Regions from separate parts of the Homo sapiens genome. Here all the other regions are linked to region 3. The links are contacts of gene promoters, found by promoter capture Hi-C in blood cells and fetal thymus (Javierre and others, 2016). All regions are on one chromosome and are shown on one strand. The core of a region is centred on a gene start or on the middle of the fragment in contact, and the rest is flanking DNA. Distances in the headings are between cores, read along the strand shown.

The links. Contacts are between HindIII fragments. The CHiCAGO score rates a contact against its expected background, and 5 or more counts as called.
Region 1: a fragment that was not itself captured here is called in contact with the fragment with the promoter of IGF1 in region 3 in 1 of 17 cell types (megakaryocytes); the score reaches 5.1 in megakaryocytes.
Region 2: a contact is called between a fragment that was not itself captured here and the fragment with the promoter of IGF1 in region 3, in 3 of 17 cell types (endothelial precursors, megakaryocytes and total CD8 T cells). The highest score is 8.6, in endothelial precursors.
Region 4: a fragment that was not itself captured here is called in contact with the fragment with the promoter of IGF1 in region 3 in 1 of 17 cell types (megakaryocytes); the score reaches 6.1 in megakaryocytes.
Region 5: a contact is called between a fragment that was not itself captured here and the fragment with the promoter of IGF1 in region 3, in 1 of 17 cell types (megakaryocytes). The highest score is 5.8, in megakaryocytes.

What each region holds. Positions count from the first base shown.
Region 1 is chr12:102,109,056-102,114,139 of GRCh38, reverse strand. It overlaps NUP37 (nucleoporin 37), which reads left to right. Exons shown (of 10, transcript NM_024057.4): 3 at 1,908-2,032. Among named protein-coding and RNA genes, the nearest start is that of NUP37, 8.5 kb to the left of the region's middle. The HindIII fragment of the contact is 4,522 bases long and covers 940-5,084 here.
Region 2 is chr12:102,155,360-102,160,188 of GRCh38, reverse strand. All of the region lies in intron 4 of PARPBP (PARP1 binding protein), which reads right to left. Among named protein-coding and RNA genes, the nearest start is that of PARPBP, 38 kb to the right of the region's middle. The HindIII fragment of the contact is 639 bases long and covers 1,347-1,985 here.
Region 3 is chr12:102,478,601-102,483,529 of GRCh38, reverse strand. It overlaps IGF1 (insulin like growth factor 1), which reads left to right and starts at 2,967. Exons shown (of 4, transcript NM_000618.5): 1 at 2,967-3,211. The coding sequence starts at 3,149. LINC02456 (long intergenic non-protein coding RNA 2456) reads right to left here. Exons shown (of 13, transcript XR_007063427.1): 11 at 1-4,929. RefSeq lists enhancers at 4,112-4,161, 4,252-4,511. The HindIII fragment of the contact is 6,669 bases long and covers 1-3,710 here.
Region 4 is chr12:101,971,275-101,976,005 of GRCh38, reverse strand. No RefSeq gene overlaps it. Among named protein-coding and RNA genes, the nearest start is that of DRAM1-AS1, 9.4 kb to the right of the region's middle. RefSeq lists an enhancer at 1,291-1,460. The HindIII fragment of the contact is 279 bases long and covers 1,223-1,501 here.
Region 5 is chr12:102,056,587-102,061,540 of GRCh38, reverse strand. It overlaps WASHC3 (WASH complex subunit 3), which reads left to right. Exons shown (of 7, transcript NM_016053.4): 2 at 195-293. Among named protein-coding and RNA genes, the nearest start is that of WASHC3, 2.9 kb to the left of the region's middle. The HindIII fragment of the contact is 3,599 bases long and covers 1-3,049 here.

The DNA.
Region 1 (5,084 bases), core at 1,951-4,450, 370 kb after region 3:
AAATTGTTTAGTGGCTGCTGTCTTGGCATATCTGGCTGTTAGCTATACAACTATTATACACACAAATTACGAAGTAGTAAAATTTGACAGTGTTTTTCTTTCCTTGATAAGTGTATTTCTTTCATTTGTGGAAAAACTTTTTGCTGTTAACTCTTAAGTTCACCTGAAATTTGAAGTTATTTTCAAAGGGTATCTGAATTATGCAGAGAAAGATGTGTAGTATATTTGTGAAATGACTTTACTGGGATCCCATAGGCTATCCTGGAAAAATCAGTATATCTACTTGGATTTCATTCGAGTATACATTATAAAACTTTGCATTTAGATTCTGGGTGAATGGAATGCTTAGATCAGGCCTTCAAGTAATTCCTATCAATATAGACATACGTATTTCATTAAATATCAAGTTTCACCTGCTGGATTTTTTCCCTGATACTTTATAATACCATACACTTTTATAAAGAAAACTGTAGTTAGCACAGAAGATTCCTTGGACAAATTTGTCGCGAAAATTTGGCCTTCTTTAGTCTCAAACCCAGTTCAGGTATTGATTTAAATAACAGAAGGATGATTTACTTATTTTTAAAATTGCAAAATTTTTTTATCATTTTCTTTTTTACCTTTCCTATGGTGCTGAGCAGTATTTTAATGCTTATAAAAAATGTGTTATCCATAAAGGCATAAAGAGTAATAAGATGGATCCCTGTATACCTGCTGCTTAGTTTAAGAAAAGGAACATTAGCAATTCTTTTGAAGCCCCCTAAGTATCCTTCCCTTACTCATGGTAGGTATTTTGCATGGCAGGATTTTCTTTTTGTTTGTCTGTTTTTTCCTGCTTTCCCCTTAATCGGGCCCTGGATCTATGCAGAAATCTCTGATCTGGCATCCTTCCTTGTGCAGGCACTAGGATTTGTCTCTTCTCTCTTGCAAACTGAAGCTTTAAATCATTGCATGTAGGCAGATACCCTTATAACAGCTGCATACCTTGGTAGTCGTTTGCTTGTCTGTATTTGAATTTTTGCAATGTTGTAATGGGAGAACTTTTCAGGTTATTGTCTCCATTGCCAGCGACAGATGGCTTGACTTTTAAAGTTGATTTTTTTTCTCACCTTCCCGTGAGGATAAACTGAAATCATTTTAGTAGGGCTGAACTGGATAAATAAGCCAACTTTATTAAGCATTTATTCCCAGAATCAAATATCTAAAACTAAATTAGCCAGATTATTTATTACATATTCACTATTCATAAACAATAATAGTTCAGATGAATTATTTGTAGCATCTTACACACATATAATGCCACATGTAACACTACATGAAAATCATTGACACTGATTATAAAGACTTTGAGGTCTTTATAAGGTCCCAAAGTATTTTCCATGTAGTGAGAATGTACAGTGTATTTTTTTAATATTGTCAGTAGATAATCCGGTTCTGGTAATTCATTTACCTAGAATATCTTGATTCTTTAGAGCATTCCATTTTCTTTGTTTTCTTTTTTTATAACGTAGACACAGGTCTCACTGTGTTGCCCAGTCTGGTCTCAGACTCCAGAGCTCAAGCAATCCTTCCACCTCAGCCCCGCAAAGTGTTGGGATTATAGACGTGAGCCAACACGCCTGACCAAGCAGTCCATTTTCATTGAACTTATTATGAAATGCCTCCTAAGATAAAGTAGAACATGTTTACCATTTGTTTCTAGTTGCCTTAGAGAGTTATTTTGTGAGGCTTAGACAACTTTGGATTTTTTTTTAATTCAATGAACTAGTTAAATCTTAATATGTAATTTGCTTTTGAACTTTTCAAAAGCATAAGCATAACCTCCTGATAAATTCATTATAATGAAATACAGAATATTATATTGTTTGTTCTCATTACTTATTAAAACATTTACTGTGTATGCTTAGGAAGAAGAAGCAGACGTTGAAGGCATTCAGTATAAAACACTTCGAACATTTCACCATGGAGTCAGGGTTGATGGCATAGCTTGGAGCCCAGAGACTAGACTTGATTCATTGCCTCCAGTAATCAAGTAAGTTTAACAGTACCAAATGCATTCCTTACTAATGTACTTTGATTGTGTTACATGATTGGAAGTCTGATCATAGATACTTTTTTCTCAATTTCCATTTTCCACAATCCAAGATATTAGATATTTTGATATTTGCTACTACTTAATAATTTAGGCTTATCATCTGAATTTGTGATTTAAATATACAGCCATGACTATGATGCCTTGACCATGTGTTTGAGCCAAACTACAAAACCTTTTACGTGAGATTCATCTGAATCAAGGTCTTTACAGATTGTTCACTGAATTTACAACTTTATTGAAAGTATAACTTAAAATAACTAAATTTGGTTGAGACATTAATGAGCTTTCCTTCCCCACCCATAGGCCAAGATCACATTTTTTTGTCCAACAGTATATAAATCTGTAAGTTCTGGTCCTGGACTTCAGTTTTTGTGAAAGTGTTTAAAAGGAATGATGGTTTTCTGAGAAAAAAATCCTAGCAATGCCTGCTGAAGCCCTCTTTACAGGGGCAAGAATATGTTAGGTTATTTAAGATCTGTTACAAAACACTAGCCTTGCCTTCTACAAATGTCAAATCTAAAAGATGTGTCTTCTTTTAGTAGACAGTACTTAGGAACTAAAAGTTATCAACTATTAAGCTAACTTCGTTTTTTTTAAATTAAGGGATAATTTAGATACTCTGAAATTCTCAGCTCTTAAGGGTATAGTTTGATCAGTTTTGACAAATACGTATATTTGTACAACCCACACCCTATTCATGCACTGTTTCTGTCACCCAAGAAAGTTTCGTCATACTTCTTCCCAGTTAATCATTGTACCCCACTCCCTGCAGAAGCAACCATTGATCTGATTTCTATTACCAGAAATCAGTTTTGCCTATTCTAGAACTTCATATAAGTGGGATCATACAGAATGTCTTTTGTGTCTGGCTTGTTTTTGCAATTTTTCCACATTGTTATGTATACCAGTGCTTTTTAAGTAGTACTCCATTACAGTGTATCAATAGACCATAGTCTGTTTATTCATTCTTCTGTAAATAGGTACCAATACAGTTTCTAGGCTTTAGTTATTATTTTTTGCTGAATACTGCTTTGGGTGGTTATATGATTTAATTTAGGAGTAGAATTGCTGAGTCACAGGGTAGATGTATGTTTAACATTTTAAGAAAATGCCAGTTTCTAAAGTGGTTCTACCATTTTGTCTTTTCCCCAATAATCTAAGGGTGGTCTTCCTACTCTCCAACACTCATTCATTCATTTTGAGACAAGGTCTGGCTCTATTGCCCAGGCTGGAGTACAGTGGCACCATCTCCACTCACTGCAATCTCTGCTTCCCAGGCTCAAGCCGTCTTCCCACCTCAGCCTCCTCCTGAGTAGCTGGGACTATAGGCGCCCATCATCATGCCTGGCTAATTTTGGTATTTTTTGTAGGGACAGGGATTTGCCTGTTGCCCAGGCTGGCCTCAAACTCCTGAGCTCAGGCAATCCATGTGCCTTGGCCTCCCAAAGTGCTGGGATGACAGCATGAGCCACCATACCTGGCCTATTCTCCAATATTTGCTATTGTCAATCTTTCTTTTTTTTTTTTTTATTTTTTTGGTACATGGTCTCACTCTATCTCCCAGGCTGACAGCCAGACCCATAATCACAGCTTACTGCAGCCTCAACCTCCCTTGGCTCAGCCTCAACCCTCCCTCTCACCTCCGCCTCCCAAGTAGCTGGAACTACAGGCATGCACCACCACTCCCGGCTAATTTTTTGTATTTTTTGCAGTGATGGGGTTTCGCCATGTTGCCCAGGCTGGTCTCGAGCACCCAGGCTCGAGCAATTCACCTACCTTGACCTCCCAAAGTGTTAGGATTACAGGCATGAGCCACTGTGCCCAGCCTGTCTTTTTAATTTTAGCCATTCTGGTTGATGCCACAATGACATTTCCATGATGAGTGATAATGCTGACGCTTTTTTGGTATATTTGTTTCTTCTATTAGAAATCTTTGTGTGATTTCTTATAGGTTGTGAAGATGTTGCATGTTTTTTCCTAGAAGCCTTTACCGATATTTAGCTAACTTAATTGAATAATCTACACAATAGCTTTTGTCAGCACACGTAATGTCATTGCCAACAGCTGGTGTGCTGTTGATTTCCTTTTATATTAAAAGAAAGTGGTCACAATATCTAGACCTAAACAAGAACAAGTCTCTTTGATTCTTTAAATTTTTAAAGCTGTGGAAACAGTCTTCTTCCCTTGGTTTTAAGTTTTGTGATACCTCTTTAATCTACATATTCAGCTGTTGTATTCTATGCTTTCCTTGTTGCTTAGTACTTGTTTTCCTGTCCTCTTTTTAGTGAATTTGCTGTGTTTCATCATTTCTGGTTGGTGTTTTTGTTTGGTTGGATTTTTCTTATTTTTTGGTAAACTGTCTCAAGACCTTTTTGGAACTATACAAATTCAGTAACAAATTCAAAAGACATTAGCAGGCCATTAATTTTAGACTATTTTTAGAGCAACCTGAAGGCACAATCTTGTTTTCAAATAAATTATTTTTATTATAAAATAATGAATGCTTAATAAAATTTAGAAAACACAGAAAATAAGGAGAAGAATGCCACCTATACTCCCAATACCCTTTTCATTTTTGTACATAATTGTACATAATTGTGATTATACTATAGTAACTCTCTGTACTTTCTTTACTTTGCTTTTTTATAGTATTCTAAAATAAATAGTAGTCTATCACCATGACTAAGGTATAACTCAGCATCTCTCTTATCATCATTAATTTTTATCTTACATTTAGAAATCCTTCATGATGGCTTATCATTAGCATGTAGTTGCCTTAAATTCTCTTTCTCCCTGCCTTTCTACTCTTTCCATCCCTACTTGCTTTTCTTGCGTAGTGGCTAGAGAATTCATTGTTCATGTTATTTCAGTTCTCTGAGGTTTTCTGGTTCAATTAAAGAAGGACTTAAATATCCCTGAAACAGCAAGGATTCAAAGAAAAGTGGGGCAACACAAGGCTGGCCATAAAGTTTTCTGGGTTTGTTTGTTT
Region 2 (4,829 bases), core at 417-2,916, 320 kb after region 3:
TCCCTCTTATTATGGTCAGATAACATGGCTGTTATGGTTTCCTTGCTCTTGTATTTACAAGTGAGTTTTAAAGAGGTTCCCTGGAAAAGCAGTCCACATAAGTATAGTTATGATGTCCAAGAGCAAGGGCCTAAATTGAAAACATCCACAAGATTGAAGCCTTTACCAAAACACCAAAAATAAGGATACTGTTCTGTTTATTTGTTTAATAAACTGATTATATCCATACCACAAAGTATTTGCAATGTTTGTTTAGAAGCTGGACAATTTTATTTAAGCTTTCTGATAATTCCAAGTTTCTTTTCCTATCTCTTCTTACTGAGAGGCAGATATTCAACCTCAGTTTGAAGAAAGTCAGTTTTTCTAAGCTGAGAAGATTAACAATTTATACAGGGTCTTTTTTTAACTTTTGTTTGCCAATGCATAAATGCTTATATATACTGACAAAAAAAAAGTTGGACAAAAACTAAGATACTTAGTAGATTTTTTTTTTTAACTGATGATTTTCTTTTTCTGGCCTTTATTCTATTATTCCCTTCATTACTTCAGAATTTTAAAAGCAATGGTTTAGTACCTTAGGAAAAATAAAATGAAGTAAAATAAAATAAGGAAACAAAAATATTGTTTCTCAAATTCAATCCATTCACCTACTTGAAGACTGGTGTCATATTAGTAAACACATTTGATGGTCAAAATATTTCTCTGCAAGACTGAAGCCCAAAAATTCACATTAGGATTTTAATTAGAGCTACATTGACTTCCAGCTGGGTGCGGTGGCTCACGCCTGTAATTCCAGCACTTTGGGAGGCCGAGGTGGGTGGATCACGAGATCAGGAGTTCAAGACCAGCCTGGCCAACATGGTGAAACCCTGTCTCTACTAAAAATACAAAATTAGCCAGGCGTGGTGGCACGGCCTGTAATCCCAGCTGCTCAGGAGGCTAAGGCAGGAGAATTGCTTGAACCCAGGAGGCGGAGGTTGCAGTGAGCTGAGATCACACCACTGCACTCCAGCCTGGGTGACAGAGTGAAACTCCGTCTCAGAGGGGAAAAAAGAAATACACTGACTTCCAAAAAGACCTTGTAAAAAGAAAAATTAGAAACTGCAAGTAACAGAAGCATGGTTAGGAAGATGGCTGCCAATTTAATACTCCTCAGAAAATCAAATCCATTAGTTGAACTAGTAGGTAAAATTCTATTAGAAAATATAATCCAAGAAAGCAAAAGTTAGAAATTAGAGAATTAACACAATGAAACTATCAGTGTTGTTTAAATCAGGAAACTACATGCTTATAATCTTTAGTCACAGATACTCCTTTAAACTTTATAAGCCGAAGTTCTAAAAGCTTAATTCTTTTCACATATACAAATTGGTTCATTCCTCTTTAAAAATACAAATATAACAATTATAATTTCCTCCCTGTAGTACATACAGGATAGATAAAAGAGATCTTTAAGTAATCTACCCTTTTGATACACAAATACACTGCTTAAGCGCCACCGAGAAAAGATCAGGCAATTTGGCAATCACTTTGTCAAGATTTGGAGCATCAAGGGAAAAGAAAGGAAATGTAAGTGAAAAATTAATTTCAAGCAAGAGAAAATAGTTACAAATCTCTAAAAGGAACCAGGTCTGGGCAGGAAACATTCAAGGTGGGCTTGGGATATTTTCTTGTACCAGAAAAGAGGAAAATGCTTGAAAAGTCTACTAGAGCATGTAAAAAAGACACAAAAACCTGCTTGAAGCAGCTTCCTCTATTTTAGCATCAAAGATTAATGAGTGTAACTCATTTTAAAACAGTGAATAAATATAAATTCATGAATCCAAACAATAGACACACAAAAAGGAGAGCAATAAAAGAATAAATATCTAATTTGCTTATATTATATATAACTATTACACTAACCCCTAAATTGGTAGAGAATTGAGGAGTTACCCTGAGATTTTTAGAGAAGGGTACTTCATCTCATTTGATAAGATAAAGCTTTATTGAGAAATGGCAAGTAATTAATGTAAAGACATAACAGAATTAGAAGCTCACTATTCTTTTTTTTTTTTTTTTTTTTTTTGAGATGGAGTCTCGCACTCCCTCCCAGGCTGGAGTGCAGTGGCACCATCTCGGCTCACTGCAAGCTCCCGCCTCCCAGGTTCACGCCATTCTCCTGCCTCAGCCTCCAGAGTAGCTGGGACTACAGGCGCCCACCATTACACCTGGCTACTTTTTTGTATTTTTAGTAGAGACGAGGGTTCACCGTGTTAGCCAGGATGGTCTCGATCTCCTGACCTTGTGATCCACTCGCCTCAGCCTCCCAAAGTGCTGGGATTACAGGCGTGAGCCACCGTGCCTGGCCAGAAGCTCACTATTCTATAGATACTACAGAAATAACTGATTCAAGTCAGGATCATCAATGCTTAAAACCATTAGATAAAAGGTTATTGAGAAACAGGATTATTTATACAGTGCCAAAGTGTCACCTCACAGATCTTTGCTGACAGCAAAGGAAAAACTACATCTTTGTACTGGAGAGACCTGGCAATTCAGGATAACCTGAGTTTGTTTCCCAATAAGATATAAAATGAAATACTCTGCATCAGTTAAGAAGTATTTCTTAGGAAATATTAAACCAAAATCTAAGCAAGATTTCAGATATCACTTCCAGTTTATTGGAAATACAGCAAATAGAGAAACAAGTTAAATAATACCACAAGGAATTAATCAGAAAATTAAAAAAAAAAAAGATTAGGGGAATTCTTCTGGAGTAAAAGAGTCTAAGGAGATATAAAACCATTTTGGGGACAAATGGAGAAATTTAAATATGGAAGTTAGTAAATGATATTTTAAAATACTTATTTAAATTTTCTTATTTCTTATATTGCGGTTATGCCATTACTTTTAGGAAATGTACGCTAAAGAATTCCAGGGACCCACATGTCAGCAACTTACTTTCAAATAGGACAGAAAAAATATCAGATGCACATATAAAACACTTTATTAAATCTAGAGTATTACAAGAGTATTACAAGAGACATACAAGAGTATTACAAGAGACATACAAGTATTTGAGGGCACTGATAAAATATATATTTTAAGTGCAATCTATTTAACATGGGACATATAGAAGAATCTACCTCAGCAATGTTTGTCAAAAATGAAGGTGATTCACCAAATGTGTTAACTTACTGGAACAGGTGATTTTGGAAGTAAATGCATTCTAGACCATTTACATATCATATTTCTAAAATATGTTGGCTGGGCACAGTGTCTCATGCCTGTAATCCCAGCACTTTGGGAGACCAAGGCAGGCAGATCACTTGAGGTCAGGAGTTCGAAGCCAGCCTGACCATCATAGTAAAACCTGGTCTCTACTAAAAATACAAAACTTAGCCAGGCGTGGTGGTGCACGCTTGTAATCCCAGCTACTTGGGAGGCTGAGGTGGGAGGATCGCTTGAACCTGGGAGGCAGTGGTTGCAGTAAGTGGAGATCGTGCCACACTGCACTTCAGCCTGGGCAACACAGTAAGCCTCTGCCTCAAAAAAATAATAAGCAAAATAAATAAAACAAAAATAATTAAAATATGTTGAATATAATTTTACTTTTTTCAACACTCTTAAATTCTCATCTTGTCAATGGTGATTTTATTAATCACAGAAACTTTGCCAAGAGTTAAGCCCCGTAAAATATTTAAGGTTAATTCTGGGCCGGGCGCAGTGGCTCACACCTGTAATCCCAGCACTTTGGGAGGCCAAGGTGGGCGGATCACGAGGTCAGGAGATTGAGACCAACCTGGCTAACAGGGTGAAACCCCATCTCTACTAAAAATACAAAAAAAAAAAATTAGCTGGGTGTGGTGGTGGGCACCTGTAGTCCCAGCTACGCGGGAGGCTGAGGAAGGAGAATGGCATGAACACGGGAGGCGGAGCTTCCAATGAGCCGAGATTGCGCCACTGCACTCCAGTCTGGGTGACAGAAGGAGACACCGTCTCAAAAAAAAAAAAAAAAAAAAAAAAAAAAGGAAGGTTAATTCTGAGCCAAATATGAGTGATCATGGTGTTATCAGGGTGTCCTTGTTCTTAGAGCTCCCAAGATGGTGGCGGGCCACTTTCAAGATGGCAGCAAGCCTCTTGTTCTCTGACCTGGGGTTCTTGGCCTCACAGATTCCAAGGAATGGAATCTGGGGCCACGCAGTGAGTGTTATAGCTCTATTAGAAGCCGTGGGTCACGGAAGAGAACCGTGGAACCCAGCGACTAGTGTTCAGCTCGATTAGGATGAACCTGGGCATTTAGCCATGCAGGAACAATGGCAAGCCTTTAGCCGCTTGGGAGCAGCAATGAGCGCCTGGCTAGATCAGGAGCACAGCGGACATCCTACCAAAGTCAGCAGCAGGTCTGCAACAGCCACAGACAGCAGTGGTGGACTGGAGCAAAAGCTCTGCTCAAGCCATAACAAACACGGACCAGAAGAGTGTGCAGTTGCAAGATTTAATAGGGTGAAAACAGAGCTCCCATAAAATGGGAGGGGACCCAAAGGGTGTTGAAGTTCCTGCTCGAATGCCTGGGTTTATATTCCAATCATTGTCCCCGCCCCCCCCCCCCACCATGCTCTCAGGCGATAGATGATTGGCTATTTCTTTACCTCCTGTTTTAGCCTAATTAGCATTTTAGTGAGCTGTCTTTACTACCTGATTGGTTGAGTGTGAGCTAAGTTGCAAGCCACTTGTTTAAAGGTGGATGCGGTCACCTTCCCAGCTAGGCTTAGGAATCCTTAGTCGGCCTAGGAAATCCAGCTAGTCCTGTCTCTCAATGGCCTGAGGCATAGTCTCAAGAGATC
Region 3 (4,929 bases), core at 1,718-4,217:
TGGTGGCCATATCTCACTGTCAGATTTTTGCAGGCAGGAGACTACATAATCATTCCATACTTTTATAATGACCCTAGATGTTTCTCTCCAATGGGACTTCATAACCTGAACTCCTCTTGGGCTTTAGATTTACTACTACCTTGGATTTGTAGTAATAGGTGCATTCATTTCTTTTACTCCTAAACAGGTACATCACTTAGCCATTAAAAAGTAATCTGGTGGCATGTTTATTGCTCTTTCATTTTCATATTGACTCCTGGAATTAGCCAAGAAAATGACCTTTTCTCTAGGAATTATTGCCCTGATCCATTGCTGGCTCACCCTGTCCAAAAATATAGACCATTCTCCAAATTGAAATATACATTAATCACCTCAGGAAATTGCTTCCCCCATTGGAAACTGATAGCTCTCATTGGAATGTTTCCAAAGCACAGCTGATGACAATTACGACTCACTGAAATTTCAGTTTTCTTTGATTGTGACATAAAAACTAGGACATAAATTAAAACCTAATTATCCTTTAAGGGTAATTGGGGTTACAAAACCGAGAGACTGTGAGTCAGTGTGTCAATATCGCTGGAGTACAGCATCTGTCCCCAAAACAGCCTTTCATATGAAATGCTTGTGGATAAGGTTATATCTGTGCACCGAGCATGCCAAGAGAGAACATCAAAATGGGTGATAGACTTGGAGACATATAGTTAGCTTCTAGGACATCTTGGAACAATTAAAGTATGCTAAAACTGCAGTGGGAAGGGGTTAAACAAAGTCCTGGCCTTCACCTGTAATGGTGTCCAATGTTGGAACAAGAACTTAGCACCAAGACTCCAGCCAGTATCTGACTCTCCAAACTTGGTTAAAGAGGTTTTTTCTCATCTGGAAGACAGGTGAGATCAGCTCTATTGTTTTATACAATCTACATCCTCAAAGTCTGTAAGAGAATAGACATTTTTCAGAAAGGGTGTGATCCACAAAAACTGCAGAAAAGAAAAAGATTTGTCACAAATCAAGTGTACAAAGAGAGCTTATTAAAGGAAGCCACGGATTATTATTAAATGCAGGGATTACTCACACATCTGCACATGTGGATAATCCCTGCATTAAGAATAATCCAGGGCCACCTACTAGGCCACCTCTTGATGATACCTCTTAGTGTGCTCTTTGGGTCAAATCCCACCCACTGAAATTTCCCAACATGGTACCCCAAAGCCTCTCATGACACAATCTGCCTCCCTCATTTTGGATTTTCCAAAAGATTTTACTCCCCTGTCTTCCCAGAGAATGTGTCACTCCCTCTCATTGTGCACTGTTCATGTTTTTAAAAGAGCACATGCCCATCATATGACTGTGAAGTTTTCCTCTTTGTCTCTGACATTCAGCTGAAAGCCCCTGAAGGGACTTGACCATATCTTATTCCTCTTTGTTTTCCTAGGGATGTTGTAGTTGGGCACATAGTAGAGCTCACAAAATGTTGCTGAACATAGTGCACCATTGACACAACATAATTCCAGATTTCTAACTTTGATTTCTGAAAGGTAAACATTGCTACAATGTATTAACCACACAGAAGACTCAAACAAACCCAACCCCCTTCCAAACAAAGCAGGTTTGTTTGTTTTTTGTTAGGGCACCCACTTCTACAAACAAATTTCTGGCCCCAGGATAACACAAAGAGCCAGAGTAGGATTTCAAGCAGAACTGTGTTTTCAGTTGATGTGTCAGTCCCCTGAGAGTCATGTGGAAAAAAAAAAAAAGAAAAAATTCAAGGTCCAGGTTATTTCCACCACTCCTGGGAAACCAGGCCTGGAGAGCTCTCTAGGGAAAGAGGTATGTCTGCTCTGGGCTTTTGCAACCTTATTTTATAATTCACTTTCTTATCTACTGCTTCACAAAACCAAAGGGAAATAGGTACAAACTGTATCGACAAAAGATCAGAACTGAATTCTCAATGGCAAAGGCAAGTGTACATTATAAATAGCAAAACAGCTGGCTTGGACCATGTTGCCGGCCAGTCACCCAGTTGAGGGATTTGAATGACATCATAACCCTCGAGAGGGTATTGCTAGCCAGCTGGTGTTATTTAGAATACACAAAAATCAGAGAAAGAAAACACACTCTGGCACACAGACTCCCTCTGTCATACACACACACACACACACACACACACACACACACACACACAGGTTTGAGTTATATGGAAAATTCAAACAACAGGAAAATTGTTTGCCCCCCAGGTACCCTTCTCCCAGAGTGGTGGGGTGGGGAGGGGACAGTGACAGGCAGCCTAGTAGAAGAATAAAGAAAAATGTTCTATTTCAGTTGGGTTTTACAGCTCGGCATAGTCTTTGCCTCATCGCAGGAGAAAAAGTATGAGACAGTGCCCTAAAGGGACCAATCCAATGCTGCCTGCCCCTCCATAGGTTCTAGGAAATGAGATCACACCTCTCACTTGGCAACTGGGACAAGGGGTCACCCGAGTGCTGTCTTCCAATCTACTTTACCCCAGTCACTTCAGGGTTAAAATTGTAGAGTTTGCTGGAGAGGGTCTTATCGTCCTTTCTTTCTTTTTTTGTTTTAAATAATGCATTTGCTCTAGAATCTAAAATTGCTCTCCCATCCCCCATATTCCTTTAATACTGGTAAGGTGTATTAGCAGACGTTTGTGTCTTCATGCCCAGCAGAAAGTTAATCAGAAAACAGATCCTTATTTTCTATGGCAGCATAAGTATTTTAATGTCTGCGAACCCTGTCACTAACACACATTCTTTTAAGGGAAAAAAATGCTTCTGTGCTCTAGTTTTAAAATGCAAAGGTATGATGTTATTTGTCACCATGCCCAAAAAAGTCCTTACTCAATAACTTTGCCAGAAGAGGGAGAGAGAGAGAAGGCAAATGTTCCCCCAGCTGTTTCCTGTCTACAGTGTCTGTGTTTTGTAGATAAATGTGAGGATTTTCTCTAAATCCCTCTTCTGTTTGCTAAATCTCACTGTCACTGCTAAATTCAGAGCAGATAGAGCCTGCGCAATGGAATAAAGTCCTCAAAATTGAAATGTGACATTGCTCTCAACATCTCCCATCTCTCTGGATTTCTTTTTGCTTCATTATTCCTGCTAACCAATTCATTTTCAGACTTTGTACTTCAGAAGCAATGGGAAAAATCAGCAGTCTTCCAACCCAATTATTTAAGTGCTGCTTTTGTGATTTCTTGAAGGTAAATATTTCTTACTCTTTGAAGTCATTGGGGAATTCTATTTAAATTGTGTACTGTTTGCTTCTGCCTAGAACTGTTCTTCACTTTAAAATTTTCATTGTTTCGGAACCGAGAGTTATTTATAAATTGCTGAATATGCAATTCTGTGGAATCTGAAAAATAGCTCGGGGAGATGGATGCATTTGCACAGATATCTGTATGAGTAGAAACTATTGCAAGGTACTTATGCTAAATCCTCCACTTCTGCAGGGCTTCCGTGGTGTCATTACAGAAGATTCCTTTAAATCCTCTCTATGGCTAAGGGCTATAGAGCATGGATATGAACTTGGGGATTTTTTTTTTCTTTTGCAGGTGCAGATGTTTTATTTTTAAGACCATGTTCTTTTGCATGTGTGTATGTGTCTCTGTGTGTATGTGTCTCTGTGTGTGTAACTCATCAGGACTTTATTTACAAGGCATGCTATATATGAAGGGTTGTATTTTAGATGATATTAAAGCTTTTAAATATGATCTTTGGAGCTAAGGTCCCGGAACTCTGCACTTATGCCCAGAGAGAGTGTTAAAGTTAGAGTAAAGTGTAATTTGTTCTTCCAAAAAAGAACTCCTTGACAACTCTTGCTGACCTTGCATATTTGTATAATTTAAACAAATACATACTGTATATGGAAAGCAGAAACTTTCTAAGAGCTGCTTGCCCAACTTTTCTGTTTAGAAGAGGACTTTCATGGGCAAAGTTTGGACTTGGGGTTCTGTGTTATAAAACTCTGATTTTATATTCAGTGTCGTGAAGTCCCTTTAGGTAAATCTGGCTGCTGCTGTCAGTGCACCGACTTCTCGTTTCCGATTGCTGGCCGTAGTTCTAGTTTCCATTCTCAGCAAAATTATATCCTTCAAGACTTGTGTTTTTTTTTCAATTTGCAAGCGCTTTTAAGCTGCTGTCACTGGCTCCACCGATTCAATTGCCTGAGGGCTCAATTCATAAGACGTCTCTGCCACTTAGTGCAGCATTCAGTTGCTGCTTTCAAACACTTCACCACTACGACTTTCCCTAGTCAAGTAAGTGGCTCCAGGAGTTAAAGATACACCCTTGTCAGGCACCTGATTCTGCTGTTCCTGAGATGCCAACACATGCAGGCCACCTTGCTTTCAAAGAAATGACGTCACTGTGCATACATACTATGTGATCTAGCAGCTGGAGTTTTTGTCTCCTTACTTAGGGGATCATAAAAGAGGCTGTGGAGCGTTATCTCTGCATTAATTACAAGTTAAGAAAATTGTTTCCAAATGCACTTTTCATGCTGTGTATGCTGAACACTTCAGAAGTGGAGCTCTTAATAAGTTGTTACTTTTTTCTGTACTTGAAGCAGGAAGTGGTTTGAGGGAGCTGCGTGGTCTTTCACATGTAATTCAGTGGGTAAAGGTGTCCTGCCCAGAGGCAGAGCTCACCAGCTGATTGTACTCTGACTCTCAAGGTATTTCCAAGTGAGTGAGTCGGGGGAAGGGAGTAAGGGAGTGGACTGGAGCTTGGGTCACTATCTGGGCTGCTACAATAGGCATACAATGGAAATAGGTGGCTTGACTGGGGGGAAAAGATTGACTTAAATCCCAGCTGTGCAATTTGTTCATTGTTTCAATGGACAAAAGGCAGTTTACCCAGGCTCATAATAGCATACCTGCCTGGGTGTCCAAATGTAACTAGATGCTTTCACAAACCCCAC
Region 4 (4,731 bases), core at 113-2,612, 510 kb after region 3:
TGAAGTGTTTTCCCTAGTGTCTAGCCCAGTGCCTACCAGCAAGATGGGATTTAGTATTACGTGAACAACTGAAAAAATGATTAAATGTAAAACCAATTTATTTGTTAACACTTGACTAAAGTAAAATCATGTATTTCTCAAAATAAACTTGGTCTGAATTGGCTGAGACTTTTGTGACTGCTGGATCATGCTTTTTGAACGAATTAGAAATAAACCACAAAATCAGGGATTTAAAAGTAATTCTTCACAAACGTGTTCGTTATAAATCCAATTCACGTATCCTGCTGAATTGGCTGCTTTGTGTAATTGAGGGCCAATTTCAACGTTCGCATGACAATGAAAATCTCAAGCTTAAATTTATTAATACGTTGCCTTGGCAGAACACCAGCCCTCTTAATAGCAAAATATGGAGAGAAAGGATATTAGTCTCCAAAGACTTGAGTTTGATTTTGAAAATAAGCTGATGTTCATTTTTTAAAAATCATTCATAAGAAGACATAACTGTGGAACTATAAAGTTATTTACATGGAAAATAATTTAAAGGACAGAACCAAACAAAATGTTAGTACAGTGTTTAGTTGGAGTTCCTGTTTAAGGAGAGCCCAAAGATAAAGATATTTAAGTGTTTTGGGGCCCACCTGAGCAATTCAAGTCTTGAATAGCTGCTAGCTCACTAATCAGATAACTCCTAATCTAGACATAACTGACAAATAATTTGCCAAATACACCAAGATATGAAGCAGAAGCACTGCGTGGTTAACCAGACAGATCCCAGCAAAAGAGATGACCACATTTCTAATAACTGTGGCTGTCATTTATTATCAGCACTATATCAAGTGCTGGACAGTCATCATTTTATTTAATACATACAAAACCCCTAATGAGCAGATGAGAAACAAAGGCTTAAAAATAGTGGAAATAAATTACCTCAAATCAACAAATCTTTAAACAAGAAAGCAGGATTTAAGCCCAAGATTGTTTAATGGCAAAGCCTTTGCTATTGACCACTCCATATTATTTTATTGTTTCTCAAAGGATGGTAGTTGAATTGGCAACATCAGCAACAACTGAGAATCTATCCCAAAGTCTCAAATTCTACCCAGGTCTACTGAATCAGAATCTCTGGCTATGAGACCTACAAGTTTGTTTTAACCACCTCTCCAGGAGATTCTAAAGCTCACTAAAGTGTGAGAAGTACACCTCTACTCTATTTCTCCAAGCTTAAGAAAATATATATAATATTTCACTTTGCCAGTGAAGATTCTTACAAAACCCAGAAAATGCATATCACATCCATTTCCTTGTTTAGGCTATGTGATCAATTGTCACTATAATTCCTACAAACAGAATATATAAAATGAGCTCCAAGGAAAATGACACGATAGCATTATTAACCACCTAAAATATGAACAAGGGCTACAATGATTGGAATTCTTTCAAGACCTGACTACACATATTGATTTGGGATTAAAACAGTATCACTTAGCTCACTCTCTAAGCTTTAACAGATAAAACAAAATTTTAATATAATCTGACAAATGAGTATCTTGCCAAGAGGGCAAGAAAAGTCAAGAGCAACCATCCAGTGTGCTGTGATGAAAGTGAAACACATGAAAATGACAATCTGAATTTCAATCTATTGCTATGAGTGGTTATCTTGCCAAATAATGAAATGTATTGACCCTAGTGCTGCGCTGTCATTGGCATGTTATACAGACATTGAAATTTTCTAAGCAAAGTTGCTGGAGGTCATTCAAATATTTATAATGGTGTAATAGGTGAACTGAAGACTCTCTTTCAAAAAATTGTTGTTCCAAATTCCTTGATGAAAAAATGTTTGGAATAAAGCAAAGTTTATATGCAAACTTATATGACTGAAATTGACTTTTGTTTCCCTGGGAATTTAAGAATCTTTTTTAATAGTTGAGAGCTGGTGTACAGCTGCAAGAGGATGTCTTAATAAGAACCCAATATTTATGCTTTCTTGATAGAACAAATGAGAGTTCGCGCTCTGTTTTCTATCTTACTTATGCTGAAAGCCTGGCAACGCTAGAATATAATACTTGCTCCTTCAAAATGTTTCTAAATTGTTGTTCACTGTTTTGTATTTCATCTCAGTGCTGCTTTATTTATAATATTATTAAACCTCAAAGAAACCCATATGGTGGAAGAGAATGAAGAAATTTTGTGATTTCACTGTTTTATTCCTTTATGAAAGAACTGACTTGAAAGTGAAAATTGTTTTAGTCTGCTTTTTATTCACAAGGACTGTGTCCCTGCTTTGCAATGGGATGGCTTAAACAGACAGGTAAATTATATTACACAATAATTTTTTTGACTGATGTATAATTCTAGAGAAATTGTCCTCTTTCCAACAGGTATGTGAAAGTTTATGTAGATAGTTGCTGTTTATATTTATTTATTATTTTTTTAATTGTTTTGTTTTGTTTTTGTTTATATTTAAATAAAGCAAACCCAGCCTTGCAAAAACACAAACATTTTTGTCCAAATACAGACAAGGAATATTGCTACCAGCAGCCCCACTCCTTAAAAATTTCTCGGTTCTTTCTAGCATTACATATTTATTCCTACTGCTTACCATTTTTTCCACTATATTGAGGACCTATAAAAAGCTAGCATTTTTAAGCTAACTTATTTATTTTCATGAGTTCATAATTGTTATATATATTTATGGGATACATGAGATGTTTTGATACCAGCATATAATGTGTAATGATCAAATCAGGTAATTAGGGCATCCATCACCTCAGCTATTTATCACTTATTTGTGTTAGGAACATTCTAGTTCCACTTTTTTTAGTTATTTTTAAATATACAATAAATTATTGTTAACTATAGTCACCCTATTATGCTACTGAATACTAGCTCTTATTCACTTTATCTAAGTGTATTTTTGTATTTATTAACAAGTCCCATTTTATCCACCCCTGCCTGTTACCTTTCCCAGCCTCTGGTAACCATCCTTCTACTCTCTGTCTCCGTGAGTTGTCTTTTTTTTTTAGCTCCCACATGAGTGAGGAAATGCAATATTTATTTTTCTGTGCCTGGCTTATTTCACTTAACGTAATGTCCTCTAGTTCCATCCATGTTGTTGCAAATGACAGGATCTTACTTTTTATGGTTGAGTAATATTCCATTGTGTATAAGGATCACATTTTCTTTATCCTTTCATTCACTGATGTACACTTAGGTTGATTCCATATCTTGGCTGTTGTGAATATTGCTGAGAGTACAGATATCTCTTTGATATACTGATTTTCTTTCTTTTGGATATATACAGAGTAGTGGGATTTCTGGGTCATATGGTAGTACTATTTTTATTTTTTTTAATGTTATACTGTTCTCCATAGTAGCTGTACTAATTTACATTTACACCAACAGTATACAAGAGTTCGCCTTTCTCCACAACTTCACCAGCATTTTTTATAGTTTGTCTTTTGGATAAAAGCCATTTATGGAGAGATGATATCACATTATAGTTTTGATTTGGATTTCTCTGATAACTAGTGATGTTGAGCATTTTTTATTTACCTATTGGCCATGCGTATGTCTTGAGAAATGTTTATTCAGATCTTTCGCCTTTTTAAAAATCAATTATGGCCAGGTACAGTGGCTCATGCCCATAATCCTAGCACTTTAGGAGGCTGAGGCGGGTGGATCACCTGAGGTCAGGAGTTCGAGACCAACCTGGCCAACATGGTAAAACCCTGTCTCTACTAAAAATACAAAATTTAGCCAGGTGTGGTGGCATGGACCTATAGTCCCAGCTACTCAGGAGCCTGACGCAGGAGAATCGGTTGAACTCAGGAGGTGGAGGTTGCAGTGAGCCGAGATGGTACCACTTCACTCCAGCCCAGGTAAAAGAGCGAAACTCCGTCTTGGGAAAAAAAAAAAGAATTATTGGTTGTTTTTTTTTTCCTATTGAGTTGTTTGAGCTCTTCATATATTCTGGTTATTAATCCCTAGTCAGACAGATAGTGTGCAACTATTTTCTCACATTCTGTGGGTTATCTCTTCACTTTGTTGATTGTTTCCCTTGATGTGCACAAGCTTTTTAGTGTGATGTGATTCCATTTGTCCTTTTTTTTTTTTTTTTCTTGCTTTGGTTAACTGTGCTTTTAAGGTCTTACTCAATAAATCTTTGCCCAGACCAATGTCCTAAAGTGTTTTCCCAATGTTTTCTTCTAGTATTTTCATAGTTTCAGGTCTTAGATTTAAGGCTTTAATCCATGTGATTTGATTTTTGTACATGGTAAGAAATAGGAGTCTAGTTTCATTCTTCTGCATATGGATATCCAGTTTTTCAAGCACCATTTTTTGAAGAGGCCGTACTTTCCCCAGTGTATGTTCTTGACACTTTCATTGCAAATGAGTTCACTGTAGATGTATGGATTTCTTTCTGTGTTCTCTATTCAGCTCCATTGGTCTATTTGTCTGTTTTTATGCCAATACCACACTCTTTTGGTTACTATAGCTTTGTATTATAATTTACAGTCAGGTAATGTGATTCCTCCAATTTTCTTCTTTTTGCTCAGGATGGCTTTGGCTATTCTGGGTCTTTTGTTGTTCCATATAAATTTTAGGATTTTTTTGTTGTTGTTTCTGTGATGTATGTCCTTGGTATTTTGATAGGGATTGCATTGAATCTATAGATTGCTTTGGGTAGTATGGACATTTTAACAATATTGATTCTTCCAAATCATGAACATG
Region 5 (4,954 bases), core at 1-2,500, 420 kb after region 3:
CTCAAACTTTTGTGCACCTCTGTCATCTTCGGACACCCCACCCACAGCTTAGGAAACAAGTTAATGACTATTCCCAGTCCTTCAAGAAATTCATATCACACAGCAAAGTGCCTCGTGATTATGTCCAAATATGAAAAGATTTGCACTGTGTACGTTCCTCCTGTATGAACCATGTTTGTTTTTACGTAACACAGGTGCCAGCTATTCAACAGAAAAGAACGGTGGCTTTTCTAAACCAATTTGTGGTGCACACTGTACAGTTCCTCAACCGCTTTTCTACAGTTTGTGAGGAGGTAGGTCCGGTGATACTGGTTTATAGAGTCGCCTGGAAATCACCTTTCACTGCTGAGACTGACAAATGGAGTAAAACAAGAATTACAGTCTTTATTCATGTACCGTGACCTCTCATCACCCAATTGTGTTAACACATCTTAGGTTCTCTTTTACTCTGTTAAAATCAATCCTGCACCCCTCCTCTACTGAGTTAGTGTTCTAGAGGTCCCTGTGAGATAGGTCAGTCAGGCTTATTGCGATTAAAGGGAACAATAGGAAATCTAATTTTTTTTTTTTTTTTTTTTTTTTTTGTGAGACAGGGTCTCACTCTGTCACCCAAGCTACAGTGCAGTGGCGCGATCTCGGCTCACTGCAACCTCCACCTCCCGGGTTCAAGCGATTCTCCTGCCTCAGCCTCCTGAGTAGCTGGGATTACAGGCATGCGCCACCATGCCTGGCTAATTTTTTATATTTAGTAGAAACGGGGTTCCAACATGTTGATCAAGCTGGTCTCGAATTCCTGACCTTGGGCGATCCACTAGCCTCGGCCTCCCAAAGTGCTGGGATTACAGGCGTGAGCCACCGCGCCCGGCTTCTAAAATTTCACAGTTGAAAACAGTTTTTATTTTGCAATTTGTCATTCGTTCCCGTACCCCAAAACCACATTGTTTAAATTTATTTTACATTCTGGATCTAAAAGATGGCTAGAGGAGATAGCCTAGAAACATAACTTTGGCATCAAATATGATTATAGAAATGAAAATATTTTCTGCAAATGACTTGTGATGTAAGGATTAAGTACCCAACTAGGGATTAGGTACCAGAACTGGCACAGCAGTGCGCACCTGTAATCCCAGCTACTCGGGAGGCAGAGGCAGGAGGATCACTTGCGCCCGGGAATTTGAGACAAGACTGGACAACAGAGAAACTCAGTGTTTTGTTTTTGTTTTTGTTTTAAAAAAGAGGATTAGGTACTAGATCCAGGATCCAGGGAATCCCTGTCTTTTAAAAAGCCAAAAGAGGATGGGGAAGACAATGGGAACCATGGGTTGAAATTGCATTTAAGGAAAGAGCAAAGTAAATTATGGGACTTAGATATTCACAAGTAAGTCTGTTGAACATTCTGTCTTATGTAAGGTATAGCCTTAGCAATTAGAGTTTTTGTTAAGTGTGTTACTACTATTAATAAAAATTGCATGGAGATGGGAAAACTATTTTTTACTTGTATGAAATTCCAGTTATTGTTTTGTCTAATTATCAACATTTCTTCTGCCTTCTAAGACAAAGTAAAATATAGTAATTGGTAGAGTAAGGGGCTTAATTCAATTTAGTTTTATATGTTAATGGCCAGAAACTAGGTGCTTGCTTCCAGTCAGTTTTATTTCGTTCCTACTATCTCTCTAAATAATTTAGGATATAAAATTGACTGAATAAAAACCAGTAAGCCAAGGTTTTCACCCTTCGATTTTTATACCAGGGCAAGATGGAGAAGTATCTGGAAAGGGACTGTCCCAGGATTACTAGCAGAAAGAAGCAAATACTCTTATCCCCATAGCCCTTATCATCAAGCTGAAAAATAAAGAACAAAGCAACAAGTAAACACACCTATGAAAGCAACTTGTTTGAGCTGTCCTGAAACAGGGATAGCCCTTCACCTTTGTAGTGCCTAATGGTTCTTGAATGAGAGCTGTTTACTGACAACTAGATCAAAGAAAACAATAGTCATCTCATTTATTGATAGATTATGATCAAAGCCTCATGAGTCACTCTTTAACCTCCTCCTGTTCCTGTCTCAACTTCTCTGCAGCTGTTCTGGCTGTATCTGTATTCTAGTACTTCTTTGAACTCTAGAGAAAAGTTTGTTCATCAAAACCTCATGAAGTTTAAAGGTAGTCTATTGCCTTTTGTCCTTTTTCAAAAATCTTATTTCTTTATTTAAATTGACAGGTAAAAATTGTATTTTTATGATGTACAACATGATGTTTTGATATATGAATACATTGTGGAATGGCCAAACCAAGCTATTTAACATAAGCAATGCCTCACGTACTTACTTTTTTTTGTGGTGAGCACACTTAAAATCGCCTCTCTTAGCAATTTTCAATACAATATATTGTTATTAACAGCAGTCACCATGACATGTAGGAGATCTCTTGAACTTATTCCTCCTGCCTAACTGAAATTTTGTATCCTTTAACCGCATCTCCCCAATCCTCTTAACCCCAAGCCCCTGCTAACCACCATTCTACTCAATATTTCTATGAGTTGTACTTTTTTATCCTCCATATATAAGTGAGATCATTCAGTATCTGTCTCTGTTTGACTGGCTTATTTCATTTAACACAATGTCTTCCAGTTCATTTATGTTGTCACAAATGACAGGATTTCATTCTTTTTTAAGGCTAAATAGTATTCCATTGTGTATATATACCACTTTTTTTAATCCATTCATCCATTGATGGACACTTTTGATTCCGTATCTTGGCTATTGTGAATAATGTTGCAGTGAACTTTCAAGTACAGATGTCTCTTGAATGTACTAATTTTACATCCTTTGGATATATACCCAGAAGTGGGATTGCTGGATCATATAGTAGTTCTATTTTTAATTTTTTGTGGAACCTCTGTACTATTTTCTATAATAGCTGTACTAATTTACATTCCCACCAACAGTGTACAGAGGTTCCCTTCATCACATATATGGTTTCCAAATATAGTCTCCCATTCCATAGGTTCTCTTCACTCTATTGATGGTTTCGTTGGCTGTGCAAAAGCTTCGTAGTCTTTTAAAATAATTTTTAAAAAATAATTTAAAATCCAGATTCTACAAACTTCTTAGTGTGATGTAATCCCATTTATTTATTTTTGGTTTTGTTACCAGTGCTTTGGGGTTTATATCCAAAAAAAGTCATTGCCCAGACCAATGTCGTGCAACTTTCCCCTTATGTTTTCTTCTAGTAGTTTTACAGTTTCAGGTCTTACATTTAAATCTTGAATCCTTTTCGTGTTAAATTTTTTTATATGGTAAAGGATGAGGGTCTAATTTCATTCTGCATGTGGATATCCAGTTGTCCCAAAATGATTTATTGAGACTGTTATTCTTAACATCTGTGAAAAGTATGTTTCTGTAACTGTCTTTTCTGTGTTCTTAACATCTTTCTCAAAAATCAATTGACTTTAAATGCATGGATTTATTTCTGGGCTCTTTATTCTGTTTCCTTGGTCTATGGCTGTTTTGATTACTGTAGCTTTGTGGTAGATTTTCAAATCAGAGAGTGTGATCTCTCTGGCTTTGTTTTTTTGGCTTAATATTGCATTGCCTGTTCAGGGTCTTTTGTGGTTCAGTATGAATTTTAGGATTTTTTTTTCTATTACTGTGAAAATATTATTGGAAAATTGATAGGGATTGCATTGAGTCTGTAGATTGCTTTGAGTGGTGTCAACCTTGTAACAACATTCATGTTTCCAATCCATGAACACACGTTATCTTTCCATTTATTTGTGTCTTCTTCAATTTTTTTCATCAATGTGTTATAGTTTTCAGTGTACAGATCTTTCACCTCACTGGTTAAATTTACCCCTATGTATTTTTTTTGTAGCTATTGTAAATGAGATTTTTTTTCTTTTTTTTCAGATAGTTTACTTTTAGTGTATAGAAATGCTACTGATTTTTGTATGTTGATTTTATATCCTGCAGCTTTACCAAAGTAGTTTGTTAGTTCTAACAATTTTTTGGTGGAATTTTTTATAAGATTTTCAATATATAAGAGCATGCCATCTGCGAACAGAAACAATTTCATTTCCTTTTTTCCAATTTCAATGCCTTTTATTTTTCCCTCTTGTCTAATTACTATAGCTAGGACTTCTAGTACTATGTTGAATAGAAGGGGTAAGAGTGAATATCCTTGTCTTGTCCCTCATCTTAGAGGAAAAACTTTCAGTTTTCACCATTGCGTATGATGCTAGCTGTGGGCTTGTCATAAATGGCCTTCATTGTGTTGAGCTAGATTCTTTCTATACCTAATTTGTTGAGAGTTTTTATCATCAAAGGATGTTGAATTTTGTCAAATGCCTTTGTTCCATCTATTGAGATGATCATACGGTTTTTGTCTTTCATTCTGTTAATGTGATGTATCACCTTTACTGATTTGCATATGTTGAACCATCCTTGTATCCCAGGGATAAATCTGACTTGATCCTGGTGAATGACCTTTTTAATGCGCTGTTGTATTCAGCTTGCCAGTATTTTGTAGAGGATTTTTGCTTCTATGTTCACTGGGGATATTGACCTTTGATTTTCTTTTCTTGTAGTGGATTTGTCTGGCTTTGGAATCAGGATAATGCTGGCCTCCTAAATTGAGTTCGAAAGTTTCCCCTCCTCTTCAGTATTTTGGAAGAGTTTGAGAAGGATTTGTATTAGTTCTTCTTTAAATGTTTGGTAGAATTCAGTAGTGAAGGCATCAAGTCCTGGGGGTTTTGTTTAGTGGGAGACTTAACTACTGATTTGATCTCTCTACTTATTATTGGTCTGTTCAGATTACCTATTTCTTTATGATTTAGTCTTGATAGGTTGTATGTGTCTAGGAACTTATCCATTCTAGGTTATCCAATCTGTTGGCATATAATTGGTCATAGCAATCTCTTATGAGCCTTCATATTTCTTTTGTTTTAATTGTAAAGT